Regions from separate parts of the Homo sapiens genome. Here regions 1, 2 and 3 are each linked to region 4. The links are contacts of gene promoters, found by promoter capture Hi-C in human tissues and cell types (Jung and others, 2019). All regions are on one chromosome and are shown on one strand. The core of a region is centred on a gene start or on the middle of the fragment in contact, and the rest is flanking DNA. Distances in the headings are between cores, read along the strand shown. Region 1 holds the start of SLC9A1 (solute carrier family 9 member A1). Region 2 overlaps AHDC1 (AT-hook DNA binding motif containing 1). Region 3 overlaps SLC9A1 (solute carrier family 9 member A1). Region 4 holds the start of TMEM222 (transmembrane protein 222).

Region 1 (4,556 bases), core at 523-3,022, 170 kb before region 4:
CCTGGGCCGGAAATTGACTCAGGGGCTCCTAACTAGCCTGGACAAGCAAAGCTGACAGATAACATTCTGGAGATGAAGGAAAGGTGGGAATATGGGGATCCCCTGTGTTCCACCACACTTGTAAGTTTCCTGTGCCCAGGTCTCCACTATGCTTAAACTCCTCAAGCAGGCCAAGTAGAAATATACTCCATCCTGGAACACGCTCCAGTGAAGCCTGTCATAAATTGCACTGGTTGCTGTTGACAGAGCAGAATGTGCCACTCGCCAGAAGACACTCCTTTCTGTCTCACACACAGCGGGGTGCCTGGCTCCCCTGGGGGTCTGGCCCAGCCAGAGGAGACTTGCCAGTCGTGGAAGCCTTACTGAAGGGACCTAGGATCAGAGGCATCCCATTCTCTAATCCTGCTCTCTTCTGTGCACAGTGCTGGCTCCAATCTTGGGAAGCCTCAGATCACAGATCAGAAGCCACAGAACTGGAGCCTGAGAAGGACCAAGGTGGCAGGATGGAGACTGCCTACTTTATGGGGGTAGTTCAGATCCTTACTCCTGGACAGCCTCAAATGGTGCGAGATGAGGCAAGAAGCTCACCAGTCTGGTGGCGGCCGCAGCATCGGAGCAAACGGGACTTACCTATCTTCATGAGGCAGGCCAGAAGGATCCAGAGGGAGATCTCGAAGGGGGTGCGCACGTGTGTGTAGTCGATGCCCAGGACTGGAAAGGCCTTGCGCGGCTTCATGCCATGATCAGTGACGGAATGATTAACAGGGCGGCTCTCTGGGGTGACCTCCGGTGGAGCGGTGGTGACATCCCCAATCGAGCGTTCTCGTGGTGGCTCTGAGCTTCGAATGGTGCTGGCAGTTGGGCTGAGCTGGAGGCCATGGCTCCTGAGAACAGGCAGCAGCCCCACCAAAGCAACCACCACGAGTAAGGAAGGGAAGATCCGATGTGGAGAGAGGCCACAGATGCCAGACCGCAGAACCATGGTGCTGCTTCCAGAGCCAGCCTCGACCTTACCCAAATGAGAGTAAAACCGGGCACATAGGTAGCAAAGGGTCAGCAAGTGGGAAGAGAGACTGGCGTAGTCTCTAGGAAAAGTTCATGTTTTAGAGAGGCATTTCCATGGAAGCAATTTTCTGGGGGTGGAGGGAGGCTGGGTTTGCAATCTGGAACTCCAAAGTGGGGAAAGGGGGCAAGGACCCAGGAACGACCACGAAAGGAGACCAAAAGGTCTGGAACTCCGGGCCTGGGAAGGGGGAGGACGGATGTGGGAAACTGAGCCCTAGGGATAGAGGAAGGGGCAGGATAGGGATAGTGCAAAGGAAAGGAAGAAGGAAGGCTGGGACCTTTGGCTGAGGAAAGTGACTGAGGAGCTGGGACTCTGGGCTGTGGGCTAAAGGAAGGGGTAGGGAGCCTGAGCTAAAGGAAGGGGACCGAAGGGGGTGAGAGCCAGTCCAGGAAAAGGAGAGAGGGGGCTGGGAGCCCAGGCTGAGAAGGAGTGAAACCGGGAAGCGGCCGGGAGCTTCTCCACCCAGAGAGGGGCAGGGGTCCAGGCGCGCCGGGCTGAGATTCCGGGGAAATGGAAAGAGGCGGAAGGCAGGCGGCCTGGCGGGAAGGCGCCTCGGCGCGGGCTGGGGGCGGCTCGCGGTGGGCCAGCAGCAACACGCCCCTCCTCGCGGCCCTGGCGCGACGCGGCGCTCCGCCCCGGCCCAGCTGCAGCTCCTCCTGGTCCAGCTCCAGAACTAACCCTAGCCCCGGCCCCGGCGGCAGCAGACTGAAGCCTAGCTGAGCCCGGCGCTGTCACTTATAGGCACCAGCGAGCAGCCGGTGCGGCGGGCTAGAGAGACCGTCGGCACCCGCCCAGCGCAGCGGCCCCTGTCGCCGAGGGAAAGAAGTATCGCGTAGGAAGAGGAAGGAGAGTCAGAGATGACAAAAAAAAAAAAAAAAAAAAGTCCTGAATATACAGAGAACCTCACTAACGCGAGTAAAATGCCGACTACTTACAAAACGATTTCACGTCCACATCTGCAGTCTCATAAGGGCTTTCGAATAATCCTGTGAAGAATGTATTATTAGTTTATGTATTTAGTTACCGTGTGACCTTGAGCAAGTTACTTAACCTGTTTCACAACTTTCTCATCTGTTAAGTAGAGACAGTAATAGTGACTATGTCAGAGGGATGATGTAATGACTGAGACAATCCGTGTAAACTATTTGGAATGCACCCTGGCACATTATTACAATTCCACTTTTACAGATGAGGAAACAGGTGAAGAGAGTCCCCTGGCTACTATGCAAGTAGTTGTATTGCTTACTAGGGCTGCCGTAACAAAGTATCACCCCAAACTGGGTGGCTGCAACAACAGAAATTGATTGTCTCACAGTTCTGGAGGCTGGAGGTCGGATCTAGGTGTTGGCAGGGTTGGTTTCAGCTGAGAGCTATGAGGGAGAATCTGTCCCATGCCTTTCTCCTACCTTCCAGTGGTTTGTTAGGACTATCTGGTATTCCATGGAGTTCTCCTGGTGTCTCTGTCTCTGCGTCCAGATTCCCCGCCCACACTTTATTTTTATTTTTATTTTTTTTGAGATAGAGTCTGGCTCTTGTTGCCCAGGCTGGAGTGCGGTGGCGCCATCTCAGCTCAATGCAACCTCTGCCTCCTGGATTCAAGCGATTCTCCTGCCTCAGCCTCCAGAGTAGCTGGGATTACTGGCACCCACCACCACGTCCAGCTAATTTTTGTATTTTTAGTAGAGATGGGGTTTCACCATGTTGGTCAGGCTGGTCTCGAACTCCTGACCTCAGGTGATCCACCCGCCTCGGCCTCCCAAAGTGCTGGGATTACAGGGGTAAGCCACAACCCCCAGCCAGATTTCCCCTTTTTATAAGGACACCAGTCATTGGATTAGAAATCCAACGTAATTACCTCATCTTAACCTGAACATCTTCAAAGACTGCATCCTAATTAGTCCATCTTCATAGGCACTGGGCATTAGGACTTCAACTTCTTTTGCCGGGACACAATTCAACCCACAACAGTGGCATGCTTTAAGTAGTGGAACTTAAATTTGAACCTATAGTTTGGTTGAAATTGGTGAGGTTCAAGGGATCATGGCTGTACAATGGAATCACTGGAAAGCTTTTTTAAAATACCATTGTCTAGGCCGGGCGTAGTGGCTGACGCCTGTAATCCCAGCACTTTGGGAGGCCGAGGCGGGCGGATCACGAGGTCAGGAGATCGAGACCACGGTGAAACCCGGTCTCTACTAAAAATACAAAAAATTAGCCGGGCGCAGTGGCGGGCGCCTGTAGTCCCAGCTACTCGGGAGGCTGAGGCAGGAGAATGGCGTGAACCCGGAAGGCGGAGCTTGCAGTGAGCGGAGATCGCGCCACAGCACTCCCGCCTGGGCGACAGAACGAGACTCCGTCTCAAAAAAAAAAAAAAAAAAAAAAAATTAGCCGGGCGTGGTGGCACATGCCTGTAATCCCAGCTAGTCAGGAGGCTGAGGCAAGAGAATCACTTGAACCCAGGAGGCGGAGGTTGCAGTAAGTCAAGATTGCACCACTGTACTCCAGCCTGGGCAACAGAGCGAGACTCTGTCTCAAAAAAAAATAAATAAATAAAAATAAATACCATTGTCTGATAAAATTAGCTGTGCTTGGTAGTCCTAGCTGCTTGGGAGGCTGAGGCAGGAGTATCATTTGAACCTAGGAGTTTGAGACTACAGTGAACTATGATCCACCACAGCACTCTAGCCTGGGCAACAAAGGGAGACCCTGTCAATCATAGTAATCATCATCATCATCATCTTTTGTAAAATATCATTTTCGGGGACCCACCGTCAGAGATTTAGATTCAATTACTTCAGGGTAGTGCCAAAGTATTTTTTTCAAAGGCTCTGATATACAACTAGGGTTGGGAGGTATAGAAATCACTGAAATGCTGTCCCTGTTTTGCAGAAGAGTACATTAAGGCCAAAACAGTCAAAGTGTCTAGCTCAAGGTCACATCACAAGTACTTGAGATTCAATTTAGTTTAACAAATGTTTACTGGGCCTCTTGACAGGGCTTTGTGCTGGGCTCTGGCAACACAGAGATAAGCCAGAGGGAGGAAGGAGGTGGTAGGAATTGGGAGGGGGCATAAAGTGGACATAATGAGGGCTTCTAGAATGCTGGTAATGTTCTATTTCTTTACTGGGTGATAGCTACAAAGGTTACAGCGACGTAGTTGTTTCGTGATAACTCACTGAAGACTCAAGATGTGTGCACCTTTTTCTAGGTATGCTATCCTTCCATGGAAAAATATATTAAAATAATAATAAGCTAGCAGCAGTGGCTCATGCCTGTAATCCCCGCAACTCAGGAGCCTGAGATGGGAGTATCAGTTGAGGCCAGGAGTTTAAGACCAACCTAGGCAACATAGGGAGACCCTGTCTTTAAAAAAAATAAGTAAAATAAAATAATAATATCCAGGTGCAGTGGCATGCACCTGTAGTCCCAGCTACTTGGGAGGCTGAGGCAGAAGAATCACTTGAACCCAGGAATTTGAGGCTGTAATGCA
Region 2 (4,464 bases), core at 1,108-3,607, 230 kb after region 4:
TCAGAAAAGTCTTTGGCTTCAGGAAAGGGACTGGCTTTTCTAGGGTCAAAATACCTTTGCCTGAAGATAGCCTCACTGGCTGCAGGTTTGCAGGGACAGTGGGACCCCAGCACCCCTTCTCCACTTCTGGGTCCCTACCCCACATGCTCCTGGCCACACCTAGCCTATCTCAGACCAAAGATGTTGGAAAATAGCCTTTGGGGGTACCTTGGGAGGCCAAGAGAGGACATTTTGGACCATCCTGTGAAGCCCTTGCAGAGTGTGTGACCACGCCACACTGGCCACTCTTGGCCTGGCCCTCACCAGGCTGCCTCTTAGAATCAGTGAAGCTCCCAGGGAAATGGGGGTGCCAGCAGGGCTGGTCCTCTGGATAGGCCCTGGGTAGACGACCGTCCAACCTGCTTCTCCCTTCACCTGTCTCACACAGGGCGATACAAATGCCCACCCTTATCAGCGTATTTCCTGGGAAATACTCACTTCCTGCCCAAGACATAGCATGAACAAATAATTGAAAGCTTAATAAACCAAACTACAGGGCCCCATCCAGTGTGTAGTCCTCTGGCCATTTCAATTCACAAGACCCCCCCGAACGTTCAAGCCCCCTGCTGAGTTCCCAGCCCAAGCACCCCATCTCCTCCTGAGACTGTCCGCAACAGCGAATCCTGAATCCCTACACCCTGCTCTCAGTCCCCAGCCTTGCCCTTAAATCCTGCATTTGCTTCCTGCACTCCATACCTCTGTCCTTGCCTAAGCTCTGATGTCCTCTTCCCACCCCCAGGCCTCTGCCCACTGCGCCCACATCCCCAGACTCACCCAGGAACAAAACCTCGCGGTCCAGTCGGCACTTCAGTTGGCACTACAGGGATGTGACGGTGAATGTGTCCTCGGGGTGAGGTTCCGCCATGGGCCCCAGGAAGCCGCTCTTGGGGCCCCCACCCAGGCCAGGATGCGCCTGGGGCATAAAGCCTGGGTACCTGTAGGCGGTGTCCTGCAGGGGCAGCAGCGAGTCCCTCGGCACGGGGGACAGGGTCAAGTCACTAAGGAGTGGGCAGCCATAGCCAGCAGCGGCTGCAGCAGGGCCACGGGGTGGGCCAGGGGGCCGGGCCATTTCCAGTGGCTCCTTGTCGGCCTTGGGCGTGGCTGGTGGGCTAGCCAGGTGAGGGGCACTGAGGCACGCGGCCTCCGTCCTGCCCAGGAAGTCAGCCAGCAGCCCTGTACCCACCTTGCCTTCATAGGGCGGGCTGCGGGCAGCTGAGCCTGGAGGGTACCAATAGGCTGTGCCCTTGCAGCTGGGGGAATCGTAGTGGGGCTGGCCCAGCGGCAGGTCCCGGCAGCTCAGGTGGGCCTGGGCTGCAGCTGCGTGGCCCAGGCTGGCCCCCTGGAGTCCATGCTTGAGGGGCTCGCAGGCAGCCAGCTTTGTGGGCGGTGGCCGCAGCTCTTCCTTGAAGCCCAGTGTAGGCGAGCAGGTGGGCGAGTATGCCTTCTGCAGGCCGGCGTCAAACACCGTGGGTGGGTGGGCCAGCGGTGGGAAATGCTTGCCATCAAGCTCGGGAGCACCCAGGCTGGGCGAGTCGCAGTGGAAGCCTTGGCCAAAGGTGCCATCGGAAGGCGTGGACGGGTTCATGGAGTAGGGTCCTATGAAGTCACAGGGGTCTCGCTCTCCCACGCCGAAGGCCCTCGACTGTGAGGGCAGTGGTGACATGCTGCTGTCCCCGCTATAGTAGTCCAGGCCGAGGTCAGGACTGTCCTGGAACAGTGGGTTGACTGGCTGTGGCTTGGGGATGAACTTGGCTTTGGCCGCTGCGCCACCCCGCTCCTTCTTGGCTGAGCAGGCCCCACCGCCCCGTCCACCTCGCGGCTGCCGGGGCCCAGTGCTCCGTTTGGATGGGTAGCCTGAGGCAGCGGCAGAGGCGGATGTCGGGAAGCCCAGATGTGAGGCCTCGAACAGGTCCACCTTCTTCCGCCGTCCACGGCCCGGCTTGGAGCTACTCTGAAAGAGGACACTCTGGTTCCAGTTGTAGCCGGGGGCAGATGATGCCTCGTTCCAGTCCATCATCAGTTTCTCCAGGCTGGACAGGCTCGACTGGCCCTCACTACTTGAGGCCTCGCTGTTGGCACGCCGAAACCCCCCGCCACCAACCGGCTGATTGAACTGGGTGCTGTCGGAGGATGACTCAGAGAAGGTCTCCGACACAGCCGTCTGCTGCTTCACCTTCTGCGGTGTGTAGTTGGAGATGTCCAGGATCACGTTGGGCTCGCTGACGTGGCAGTCAAAACTGGGATTGTAGAGCTGACTAAAGGCCTCTGAGGCCCAGTCCAGGCCTCCATAGCCCTGCCGGAAAGGCCACTGAGAAGCCCCCGCAAACTGCCGACAGTTCTCGGGCGAGGGCTGGAAGGAGGAGGAGGAGGAGGAGGCGGCAGAGGCTGCAGAGGTGGCAGAGGCTGTGGTGCCCTTGGGTACCATGTAGCCACCGGGCGAGACTGTGCTGGCCCGGCTGTCACAGCGCAGGGGCGTGGGGGCTGAACCAGAGAAGGGGGCCCCCTCAGAGCTGCTGAAGAAGGAGGCCTTGCTTGGTGGCAGGCAGGGGCCCCCGGTAGGCGGTGGGGCATAGCCGGCGCTGTGGGCGCTGCTGGGTGAGGCAGGGAGGCTGTTGCCACTGCCATAGGCGAAGCTGCAGTCCTTGCTGTTAGCGCAGTCCTGGCCTGTAAAGGGCTTAGTTGGGGCGAATACGCTTTGTCCGGCCCCATAGCCGCCGTACTGGGGCAGGTAGGTGTTGGCAGGCGGGTGGGTGGTAGGTGAGCGGGCCATGGCTGAGGGCGGGGGCACCAGCTTGGGGAAGGTCTCGGCTGCCCGGCAGTCTGAAGCGGCTGGAGTTAGCCCATAGCTTGCTGCTCGTCCTGGTGGGAAGGTCTGGCGCGCGGACAGGACAGGCTGAAAGGAGGGGTCCGCCCCAGCCCCGCTGCTACCCACTGCCACTGGGCTGGCCTTGGCTCCCCGGCTAGGGAAGGTGGCCAGGCCCCGCTGGGCAGGCAGGGCACTGGTGGGTGGCCCTGCATAGGTGCCCGATGCCTTCCGGGACTCTGGGCGAGAGGCTGAGAGGGCAAAGTCCAAGAGATCGGAGGAGTCATCCGAATCGAGCAGCGAGCGAAAGTAGCCGGTGAAGAGGTTTTGGCGCTCCTGGCTGAGCTCGGTCTGGCCTGAGGGTGCACCCGTGCTGTAGTAGCTGCCACGGCCTGAGGCTCCACTCTCCAGCCCAGTGGAGGCAAAGGCCCGGGCCTCGGTCCCCTGAAACCCACAGTTTCGGCCAGCTTGTCCGCCTGGGTGCCCATGGTGAGGGGCCCAGCCACCACCCTTATCCCCGGCCCACTCAGCACCTGCCTCCCCAAAGCCTGGGCCACTGGGCACCTGCTCTGGGAACAGAGTCCCATTCTTCCGGGACCGTCTCTTGCGCTTTGGCTTCCCAGTCACAGCGTCTACCTCCCCCCGGCCCCGTTTGCGTGGGTGCCCCAACTCAGTAAGGCCCGGGCCCCCGACCCCAGCGGCTGCCACGGCCACCACCTTCTTTTTCTTGCCGATGCCCTCAAAGAAGTCACTGAAGGAGCATCGGGCTGACTTGGCCGCATGGCCCCCACCCCGGCCACCAAAACCGCCTGCTTTGCCCCCACGCCGCCGGAAGCCCTGCACACGATGCAGGAAGTGGGAGATGCTCTGGGTGTCGGGGGCCTGGTGCACCGACTCCGGCTCACTGGGTGTCCAGCAGCGGGGCGGTGAGCACCGTCCAGCGCACTGGCTCTGGCGGTTCAGGAAGGCCAGCTTGGCCAGGACGTCTGAGTACTCGGCCTTGCTGTCGTTGGCGTCTGCTGCATAGGATGGCTGGGGAGATGCCAGCTTCTGCTTCCGCCGCCGTCGTTTTTTTACCTCTGGCATGGCCATGGTGGCCGCTGCCACAGTGGCTGCCTCGGCCGCCACCACAGCTGGCTCCTTGGGCTTGCCGGGACCCAGCAGCAGGTTCTTAGGAGGGCGGCCGCGCTTACGTTTGAGAATAATGGGCATCTCACCGGGTGGGAAGACCACTACCACGTTCCGCCCATTGTTCTTCATCTTCAGCAGCGGGGTGGGCTCAGCCGACACGCGCAGGCCCAGCTCCTTGCCCTCCACGCTCAGGCTGCTGCTCAAGGAAGACACTTTGTATGTGGTCTTGTTCCGCCGCCCCAGCGATACGGGGATCTTGGCCATCTTCACCACCATGCGCCGCACGCCCCGGCACTTGCCTTTGCGGGTAGAGACCACTGGGGTCTGGGAAGATTCCGGCTTCAACTCTGGGACTGAGACCGGGCCTGGGCCTGGCAGGGCAGGGGGTGGAGGAGGCGGTGGTGGTGGGGGTTCGGCCAGGGCAGCCACCAGCCCCGTGGGCATAGGCAGGGGCAGTAGGCGGCCCTCGGGTCCGGCGTCTGCCTTGCGTC
Region 3 (4,451 bases), core at 1,256-3,755, 190 kb before region 4:
CTTTTTGAGACGGAGTCCCACTCTGTCTCCAGGCCGGAGTGCAGTGGCGCAATCTTGGCTCATTGCAACCTCTGCCTCCTGGGTTCAAGCGATTCTCCTGCCTCGGCCTCCTGCGTAGCTGGGACTATAGGCGTATGCCACCACGTCCAGCTAATTTTTGTATTTTTAGTAGATGAGGTTTCACCATGTTGGCCAGGGTGGTCTCGATCTCTTGACCTCGTGATCCGCCCACCTCAGCCTCCCAAAGTGCTGAGATTACAGTCATGAGCCACTGTGCCCAGCCAAGAGTGAAGCTTTTTAAGAGGTAAGACATACTACTGAAAGGCAGGGACTACATCCCCCTCCGCGTCTTTCCACCACACCTGAATCTCCACTCACTGTCCCCTAGCTCTACTGGCCTCCTTGCTTTTCCTTGAGCACAAACATGCCCCCACCTCAGGGCCTTTGCATTTGCTGTTCCCTGTGCCTGAGACACTATTCCCCATGTAGGTGAATGACAGATTCCCTCCCTTCCTTCAGGTCCCTGCTCAGATGCCACCTCCCCAGAGAGGTCCTCCCAACCCTCTCTATCCGCTTACCCTTGCCACTTCCTGACGTCTAGATGTGCTTTCTGACCGTTCCCCACCCAGAACATAAGCCTCGTGAGGGCAGCCTCTGTCCCAATCACTGTTGTATCCCTGGCACCTTAGGCTGTACCTGGCACACAGGAGGTTCACAATCAATGTTTGCTGGATGGATGACTTTCTCTTACCTCAGTGACCTCACAAGGTTGTGAGGATTACATGAGACCACAAACACAAAAGCACTGGGCGAACCACAAGATGTTGTCGGGGGGGTCACCATCAGCTTGTCCCTTGGAGAGCCACTCTTCCAAGGTGCTGCTCAGCAGTTTTTCCTAAATACCCCAGGGAGCAGAACCCAGTCACGCTCAGTTCTGTGGCCTGCAGAGCCTGGGACCACACAGCCCTCTATTAAGAGTCTGATGACACGGCACAGCTGGTTGGTCTGTCTCCCCCTCCAGACCACAAGCAAGTTTCTACCTGCAAGCAAGGCTAGGGACCCTGTCCTATTCATCTTTGACTCTCTAGGCCTCAGCACGGAGCCTGACACATAGTAAGGATAAAGACTTGTTGAGCTAGCAGAACTGTTTGAGGGCAGAAGTCATGTCTGGTTTAACTTTTTTTCCTTCCCTTTTGTGTATATATTTTTGGGTTTAACTTAATCTCCAGTGTTTGGCACTAAGCACATGGACACTAAGCTCCAGCTGAATTGGCCTTTTCCTTGAAGGAAGGGTGAGAGTTAGGCACCAAGAAGGCCTGGCAGGCAAATCAGCAGCATCTGGAAAGACAGGACAGGGAAACGAGTGTGGTACAGGTAGAAGATTTATTTTTTGCGGGGGGAGGGGGCAGGGAAAACAGAGTCTGGCTGTGTTGCCCAGGCTGGAGTGCAGTGGTACGAACATGGCTCACTGCAGCCTTGACTTCCTGGGCTCAAGTGATTCTCTCACCTCAGCCCCCCATGTAACTGGGACTACAGGCGCGTGCCACCATGCCTAGCTAGTTTTTGTATTTTTTGTAGAGATAGGGGTTTTGCCATGTTGCCCAGGCTGGTCTCAAACTCCTGAGCTCAAGAGATCTGCCTGCTTTGCCTCCCAAAGTGCTGAGATTACAGGCGTGAGCCACTGAGCCCAGCCCAGGTAGAGGCTTTCTATTGGAGCAAATGGCAGTGGACTGGAGTGGAAATCATTACTTAGATGCTGTAAAGCAGACTTTTCTCTCGCCCTCACAACATGCCCTGGCAGTGGGCAACAGATGAGAGAACAGACATTGAGAGAGGTCCAGACACAGGCCCAAGATCACATGGGTAGCAGCGGAGGCAGGTCCCAAACCCAGAACTACTGACTCCCAATCCAGCGCTCAGCCAAGGCCAGTTATGAAAGGCCACAAATACCCTGCAGGGAGAGAATTCCCAATCACCCTGCTGAGCCAGGCAGAGCCACTGGAGGGCTCTGGCCTGGGGAACAACATGAAATTCTGCCACTTCAGGGAGGTGGTCAAGGGAGACAGCGCTGGCCACCCAGGCTCAGCACCTGGCATAGGGCAAAGTTGTCCAAATGCACAGCCATTTAGTCTCAGCTCCAGGGACAGCTGGCACTGCCTCCTGCACAATACCAGCAGGATGGGTGAGCACCCCCTCCATCCTACCTCCAAATGCCTCAAAAGACCAGAAAACTACAATTCTGAGAAAAGAAAGGCCTGAGTCAAGCCCAGGCTGGGGATCAGGGGAACTGGGCTTCAGTCTAGACTCAGCCACTAACATTCTGTGGGCTTTGAACAAGCCGTTGCTTCTCTTTGGTCTCAGTCTCTCCATCCTTGGGGGCTTGTTGAGAGCCTCTCTACCTCTGACATCTGACTGATGAACTCTGCAGCTGGACAAAGTCGGGCTCTGTGATACTCACCATCTCTGTCCATGCCAGCAACTGTGGCATCTGGGTACAGAATAGCATTCGTGCCATAGCAAGCTTGCACGAGGCAGCAGCGGGCAGCGTAAAGAGCTCTGGTCCATCAATGAGGGAGGTAGTTTCTGTCCCAATTCTAAATCTTAACTTCTCTGTGACCTAATAAGGCAAATCACGGTACTGCCCTGAACCTCAGTTTCTTCCTTTCTAACATTGGGATAAAGAATGTCTATGGCACAGCGTTGCTGTAAGAGGAGAGAACAGAGACAGAAACACTCAGAAAAAAGCAAAAACAAAAATATATGCCCAGGCCAGGGGAGGTGGCTCACACCTGAATCCCAGCAGCGGGGGAGGCCGAGGCGAGAGGATCACTTGAGCCCAGGAGTTTGAGAGCAGCCTGGGTAACGTGGCAAAACCCATCTCTACAAAAAATTTAAAAATTAGTTGGGCATGGCTGGTGCATACCTGTAGTCCCAGCTACTAGGGAGGCTGAGGTGGGAGGATCACCTGAGCCCGGGAGGTTGAGGTTTCAGTGAGCCGAGATCATGCCAACTGCACTCTATCCTGGGCAACAGGGTGAGACCCTGTCTTTAAAAAAAAAAAAAAAAAAGGCCAGGCGTGGTGGCTCATGCCTATAATCCCAGCACTTTGAGACGCCAAGGCGGGCGGATCACCTGAGGTCAGGAGTTTGAGACCAGCCTGGCCAACATGGTGAAACCCCATCTCTATTAAAAATACAAAATTAGCCGGGCGTAGTGGTGCATGCCTGTAATCCCAGCTACTTGGGAGGCTGAGGCAGGAGAATCACTTGAACCCAGGAGGTGGAGGTTGCAGTGAGCCGAGATCCTCACGCCATTGCACTCCAGCCTGGGCAAAAAGAGGGAAACTCCATAAACAAACAAACAAACAAACAAACAAATGCATGCACGCACGCACGCATGCCAGACACTCCCGTGCAGATCTAGATTCCCAGAAACCAGCAGCGGCAGGGTCCCAGAGGCAAGCTGGCAGCACTAGGGAGGCAAGAGCTTCTCCTAAACAGGCACCTGAGGGGGAAGCTGTCCAACTGCACAGCATTAAGGCTCCATGGGCAGCAGGCACTGCCTCCTGCACAATACCAGCAAGATGGGTGAGCTTTCCTGATACTGGATCCTCTATCTCAAGGGGGTCCCCTAAGGGTCTCCCATACACTTCTGATAACGATCCAGCTGGCTGGGCTCTGTGTGGTGGGAGAGACAGGGCATGCTTGGAGGGCCTCTCCCTGCCTCCTCTCCCACCACACTGGGGATAGTTTGTCACTTCAGGCCTCTAGGAGCCACGAGATGTAGAGTGGATAGGAGAACTGAGCATGCTCAGAGGAGGCTGCCCTTTAGAGGACACTGCAGAGAAAAGATGAGGACACGGCCAGCTGCAGGGCTTGGTCCTGGTGCCAGGAAGGCCCAGGGCTCTAGAAACAGCAATGGGAGGTCAGCTCTCTCCTGTGGGAGAAGAGGGGCAGCAAGAAGTCAGAGATTAGAAGAGGGAGGGCCCTCTGAGACCATCCAGTGCAACCCCTCTATTTTACAGATGCAAAGGATGAAGCCCAGAGAGGGGACGGAACTTGGTTGACGTTACACAGCAAAGTGGTAGCAGAGCTGGCACACACACCCAGGATGGTCCACTCCAAAACTGGTCCTTGCTTGGAACATGGTGCCAACCCCCCCATTCCACTCCCACTTCTTTTTTTTAAACTACCTTCTATTGAGTGCCTCACTTTGATGCTCTGTATACTTCAATCACGATTCTCCTAGCAGCCCTCTGACACAGGGATCACCCTCCTCATTCTACAGCTGAGGAAACCGGGGCAGAGAGAAATGGTCTGACTCCAGAGCCATGGCCCCAACCATGCTGCCTGCAGCTCTGAGCCCCAGTTTTCTGGACCAAATGGTGGGTGTGGGGAGCAGGAGCCCTGGTTTATTGCCAGGTCTGTCACTCCTTTGCTGTGTGACCTTGG
Region 4 (4,031 bases), core at 285-2,784:
ATAAATCAGTAAACATCTAGTGGGCATATGCTTTGCACCAGGAACTGTGCCAGCTACTGAAGTCAAGGACCTTAGAGTTCTATAGCAGAGACAGACATCCCCCACAAAAAAACATGAAAATATTAGGTGCTACAAACAGGACAGCAAGCTCTCCATAGATCAGCATTGAGGGAGGGTAATTCAGTGGAAGAAGGACCTTCCCCAAATGGGAAGCTCCTAACTTCCTGAGTGCATTTGTCCATACCTTCCTTTACCTGATTACTCTTTTTATTCTTTTTTTTTTTTCTTTAAGGCTGATTTTTAGTGGCAGCCTTCCTTCTGACTTTGGGCTGTCCCCAACTTCCCCTCCCCACCCCAGTAGACCCCAGTAGACTTCATTTTCTTTGTCTTGACATCCTTTAAAAAGCCAAAAGTCTCCAACATTTGAGCCTGGCTTCTCTCTAATTATGGTTGTGTGTGATCTCAAACAATTAACTTCCCTGAGCCCGTTTTCCCATTTGTACAATGAAGGGATTGGATCACATCTAAGGCTTATGATTTACTCCAGTAAGTATTCACACTCTTGCACACACTGCTCTGCACGGCCTTCCTTTCTTTGTACCGCTGCACTCATACTTCCACTCCTGTGCCACATGGCAAACATCAAGACTCAACTCAATAATATCCTATCTTCCAGCAAGTCTTCCCTGTATATACAATAAAACACACACACACACACACGTGCGCACACACAACTGTGTGTGTCTTCCTTTATGCTACCACTACCTCGTGAGAGGGCCACAGAATGAAAAGGGCAAGGGAGGTATAAGACTTGGGTTTGGGCCAGGCGCGGTGGCTCACGCCTGTAATCCCAGCACTTTGGGAGGCCAAGGCGGGCGGATCACAGGGTCAGGAGTTTGAGACCATCCTGGCTAACATGGTGAAACGCCACCTCTACTAAAAATACAAAAATTAGCCGGGCGTGGTGGCACGCGCCTGTTATCCCAGCTACTCGGGAGGCCGAGGCAGGATCGCCTGAACCTGGGAGGTGGAGGTTGCAGTGAGCCGAGATTGTGCCATTGCCCTCCAGCCTGGGCAACAAGAGAAAAAATTCCGCCTCAGAAAAAAAAAAAAAAAAAAAGACTTGGGTTTGCATCGTGGTCTCTCACCTTTTGAACCTCAGTTTCTCACCTGTAACAGGAGGGAATACCTAATTTGGATGTCTAATTAGTTTATGGGGATTAGAAACAATTCATGTCAAGTGCTTGGCACCTAAGAAGTGCTCAATAAATAGCGACTGTACCACACCTCCTAGGAGCCCTCAGCGTACTGAATTAGAGTTCTCTATAAGTCTCCGGCGCTAGACTGCGAACTGCCTGAGAGCATCCCTTCTGCAGCCGCGGGGCATAAGCGGCAAAGACTCGGGGCTGGCAGGCGCATAGGGAGTGGGGCGGGGCTGGCCGGGCCCAGAGGAACGCGGCTCGGATTCCCGGGGGAAGGCCAAGCGGGGCGGACCCCATCTCCGGGAAGTGACGCCATGGGGACGAGCGGCACCAGAGCCGGGGCCAGTCGGAGCGGGGCGCGCGCCGCATGGCGGAAGCGGAAGGGAGTTCTCTGCTCTTGTTGCCGCCGCCGCCACCCCCGCCCAGGATGGCGGAAGTGGAGGCGCCGACGGCGGCCGAGACGGACATGAAGCAATATCAAGGCTCCGGCGGCGTCGCCATGGATGTGGAACGGAGTCGCTTCCCCTACTGCGTGGTGTGGACGCCCATCCCGGTGCTCACGTGAGTCTCTTCCGGCATCCGCCTGGGGACGAGGAGGGCCCAGGGAGAGCCGGAGTCGGGCCGGGCTAGCCTCCGGCCCCAACGCGCAGCAAGCCTTTTCCTCGGGTCTGGCCCGCACGCCTCGCCCAGTCACCAGAACCCCGCCATCCATGTAGTGCCAGTTTGTGCACACGGCTGGGACACGCTCCCTGCTCTCAATACACCTGGTGTAGCCAGGGAGAGAGTTGTAGGCCAGCAGGAAAGGGCAAGTGGCTGGGAGACTCGAGCTGTGAGTGTGTAGAAGAGGGAGCCCCTTATCGGATCTGAGGAGACATTTTTATTAATTCACTGGTTTATTCTCTCATTGAGCAAATGCTTACTGGTCGCTTACCATATTCCAGACATACTGCTGGGTCTGGGAGCAAGAGTGGGAGTTTGGTTGGGACCACACGAGATCCTGGGATGTCAACATTGGAAGGGCCCCCAGAGATCTGAGAGTCCAACCCTTTGTCTCACGTGCCATCTCAGTTGCAAACTGGGTTTAGATCCCAGGTTGTCTGCCTCCCAGACCAAAGTTCTTTCTGTAACATCAGCCTTTGTCAGGGGAGAAGCAGGTGCTCTGGTACTACTTGGCGCCTTTTGGGAGGAGCTCTCATATGGGGAGAGGTGGTTTGCCCTCCTGCTTCAACCTTGACAGCTGATAAACGTAACCCCTCCTCACCGTGCTGGATAGTTTGCCAAGCTCTTAAACACCCATTTTATCAGAATTAAACATCCATTTTCTAAGGTAGGTTATCTTCTCAGATGGTGAAGCTGAGCTGCTTGTAGCATTAAGTGTCTTGATCAGGTTCGCACCCCAATAAGCAAAGGCATGAAGAGCTCAGTCTTCTGATCTAACTTGCTCTTTGCACTACATCTTATCCACTCTCACCTGATGGGATAGCTTGTTCCGCTATCAATAACAGCCAGTGGTGATGTGGAGAAGGGATCATTTGGGGCCTTAGGTGTTGCTGATTCTAAAAAGATCGTAGTTTTTGAATTATGTTAAAATACTTGAATTATTTTGTGTTTTCAAGTACTTATGCATATAAGAGCATCCAAATCTGTTCTTTAAAAATAAAATATTGGGACAGGCGCGGTGGCTCATGCCTGTAATCCCAGCACTCTGGGAGGCAGTGGAGGGTGGATCGGTAGGTAGTTCGAGACCAACCTGGCCATCGTGGCGAAACCCGTCTCTACTAAAAATACAAAAATTAGCTGGGCATAGTGGCACGTGCCTGTAATCCCAGCTACTCTGGAAGCTGAGGCAGGAGAATCGCCTCAACCCGGGAAGTGGAGTTTGCAGTGAGCCGAGATTGCACCACTGCACTTCAGCATGGGCAACACAGTGAAACTCCGTCTCAAAATAAATAGTGAAATAAAATCTTAGGAAAATGTGCACATTAATTCATTCAGTGTTCTTCTAACACATGTGCTAAGTGACCCCTGTGTTCCCAGATAGTTCTAGGTGATGCGAATATACAGTGATGAATAAAGGAGATATGGTCTTTAGACTTTTGAGAGTTTAAGTCATAGTGGAAGGAGATAGACAGTAAACAAGTAAGCTAATAAAAGAGCACCTGATAGTGATGAGTGCTGTGAAGAAAATAAAATATTAGTGTGAAAATAACAGGGGCCGGGCGTGGTGGCTCAGGCCTGTAATCCCAGCACTTTGGGAGGCCCAGGCGGGCGAATCACCTGAGGTCAGGAGTTCAAGACAAGCCTGACCAACATGGAGAAACCCCATCTCTACTAAAAATACAAAATTAGCCGGGGTGGTGGCACATGCCTGTAATCCCAGCTACTCAGGAGGCCGAGGCAGGAGAATCACTTGAACCCGGGAGGTGGAGGTTGCGGTGAGCCAAGATCGTGCTTTTGCACTCCAGCCTGGACAACAAGAGCAAAACTCCGTTTCAAAAAAAAAGAAAATAACTGGGAGGGATACTCAGGAAATGTATTGGTTTTCTTAAAACCTGTCTTGTGATCCTAAACTCTCTTTAGCCTTTCTTATTCTCAAAAACACCATCTGTGGCGTGGTCCTCTGCGGAGAATGGTAGCAGCGTGAGGTGGAGGCACCACAATCCCTTGTCACCTGGGCCAAAAGCAGCTCATAGCCCATTTCTATTCAGATCTGTGTACAGGTGTTCATAAGACCAAGATGAATAAGACACTGTGTTCCTGTCAAAGGGTTCATGTTCCCTTCTGTGTTAGTCCATTCTTGCACTAATACTTGAGACTGGATAATTTCTA

The links. Contacts are between HindIII fragments. The study calls those that stand out against the background at their distance.
Region 1: the fragment with the promoter of SLC9A1 here is called in contact with the fragment with the promoter of TMEM222 in region 4 in 1 of the 25 tissues and cell types used here (IMR-90 fibroblasts).
Region 2: a contact is called between a fragment that was not itself captured here and the fragment with the promoter of TMEM222 in region 4, in 2 of the 25 tissues and cell types used here (IMR-90 fibroblasts and pancreas).
Region 3: a contact is called between a fragment that was not itself captured here and the fragment with the promoter of TMEM222 in region 4, in 4 of the 25 tissues and cell types used here (H1 embryonic stem cells, IMR-90 fibroblasts, dorsolateral prefrontal cortex and 1 more).

What each region holds. Positions count from the first base shown.
Region 1 is chr1:27,153,353-27,157,908 of GRCh38, forward strand. It overlaps SLC9A1 (solute carrier family 9 member A1), which reads right to left and starts at 1,773. Exons shown (of 12, transcript NM_003047.5): 1 at 631-1,773. The coding sequence starts at 982. LOC102723760 (a long non-coding RNA gene) reads left to right here and starts at 4,209. Exons shown (of 3, transcript XR_426674.4): 1 at 4,209-4,274. RefSeq lists a silencer at 1,493-1,722 and an enhancer at 2,668-3,167. The HindIII fragment of the contact is 28,159 bases long and covers 1-4,556 here.
Region 2 is chr1:27,546,448-27,550,911 of GRCh38, forward strand. AHDC1 (AT-hook DNA binding motif containing 1) reads right to left here. Exons shown (of 9, transcript NM_001371928.1): 8 at 814-4,464. The coding sequence ends at 857. Among named protein-coding and RNA genes, the nearest start is that of AHDC1, 55 kb to the right of the region's middle. The HindIII fragment of the contact is 6,600 bases long and covers 1-4,464 here.
Region 3 is chr1:27,125,608-27,130,058 of GRCh38, forward strand. All of the region lies in intron 1 of SLC9A1 (solute carrier family 9 member A1), which reads right to left. Among named protein-coding and RNA genes, the nearest start is that of SLC9A1, 27 kb to the right of the region's middle. The HindIII fragment of the contact is 6,234 bases long and covers 1-4,451 here.
Region 4 is chr1:27,320,629-27,324,659 of GRCh38, forward strand. It overlaps TMEM222 (transmembrane protein 222), which reads left to right and starts at 1,535. Exons shown (of 6, transcript NM_032125.3): 1 at 1,535-1,763. The coding sequence starts at 1,570. It also overlaps the pseudogene ACTG1P20. RefSeq lists enhancers at 949-1,495, 1,496-2,043, 1,543-1,892, 2,044-2,590. The HindIII fragment of the contact is 11,672 bases long and covers 1-4,031 here.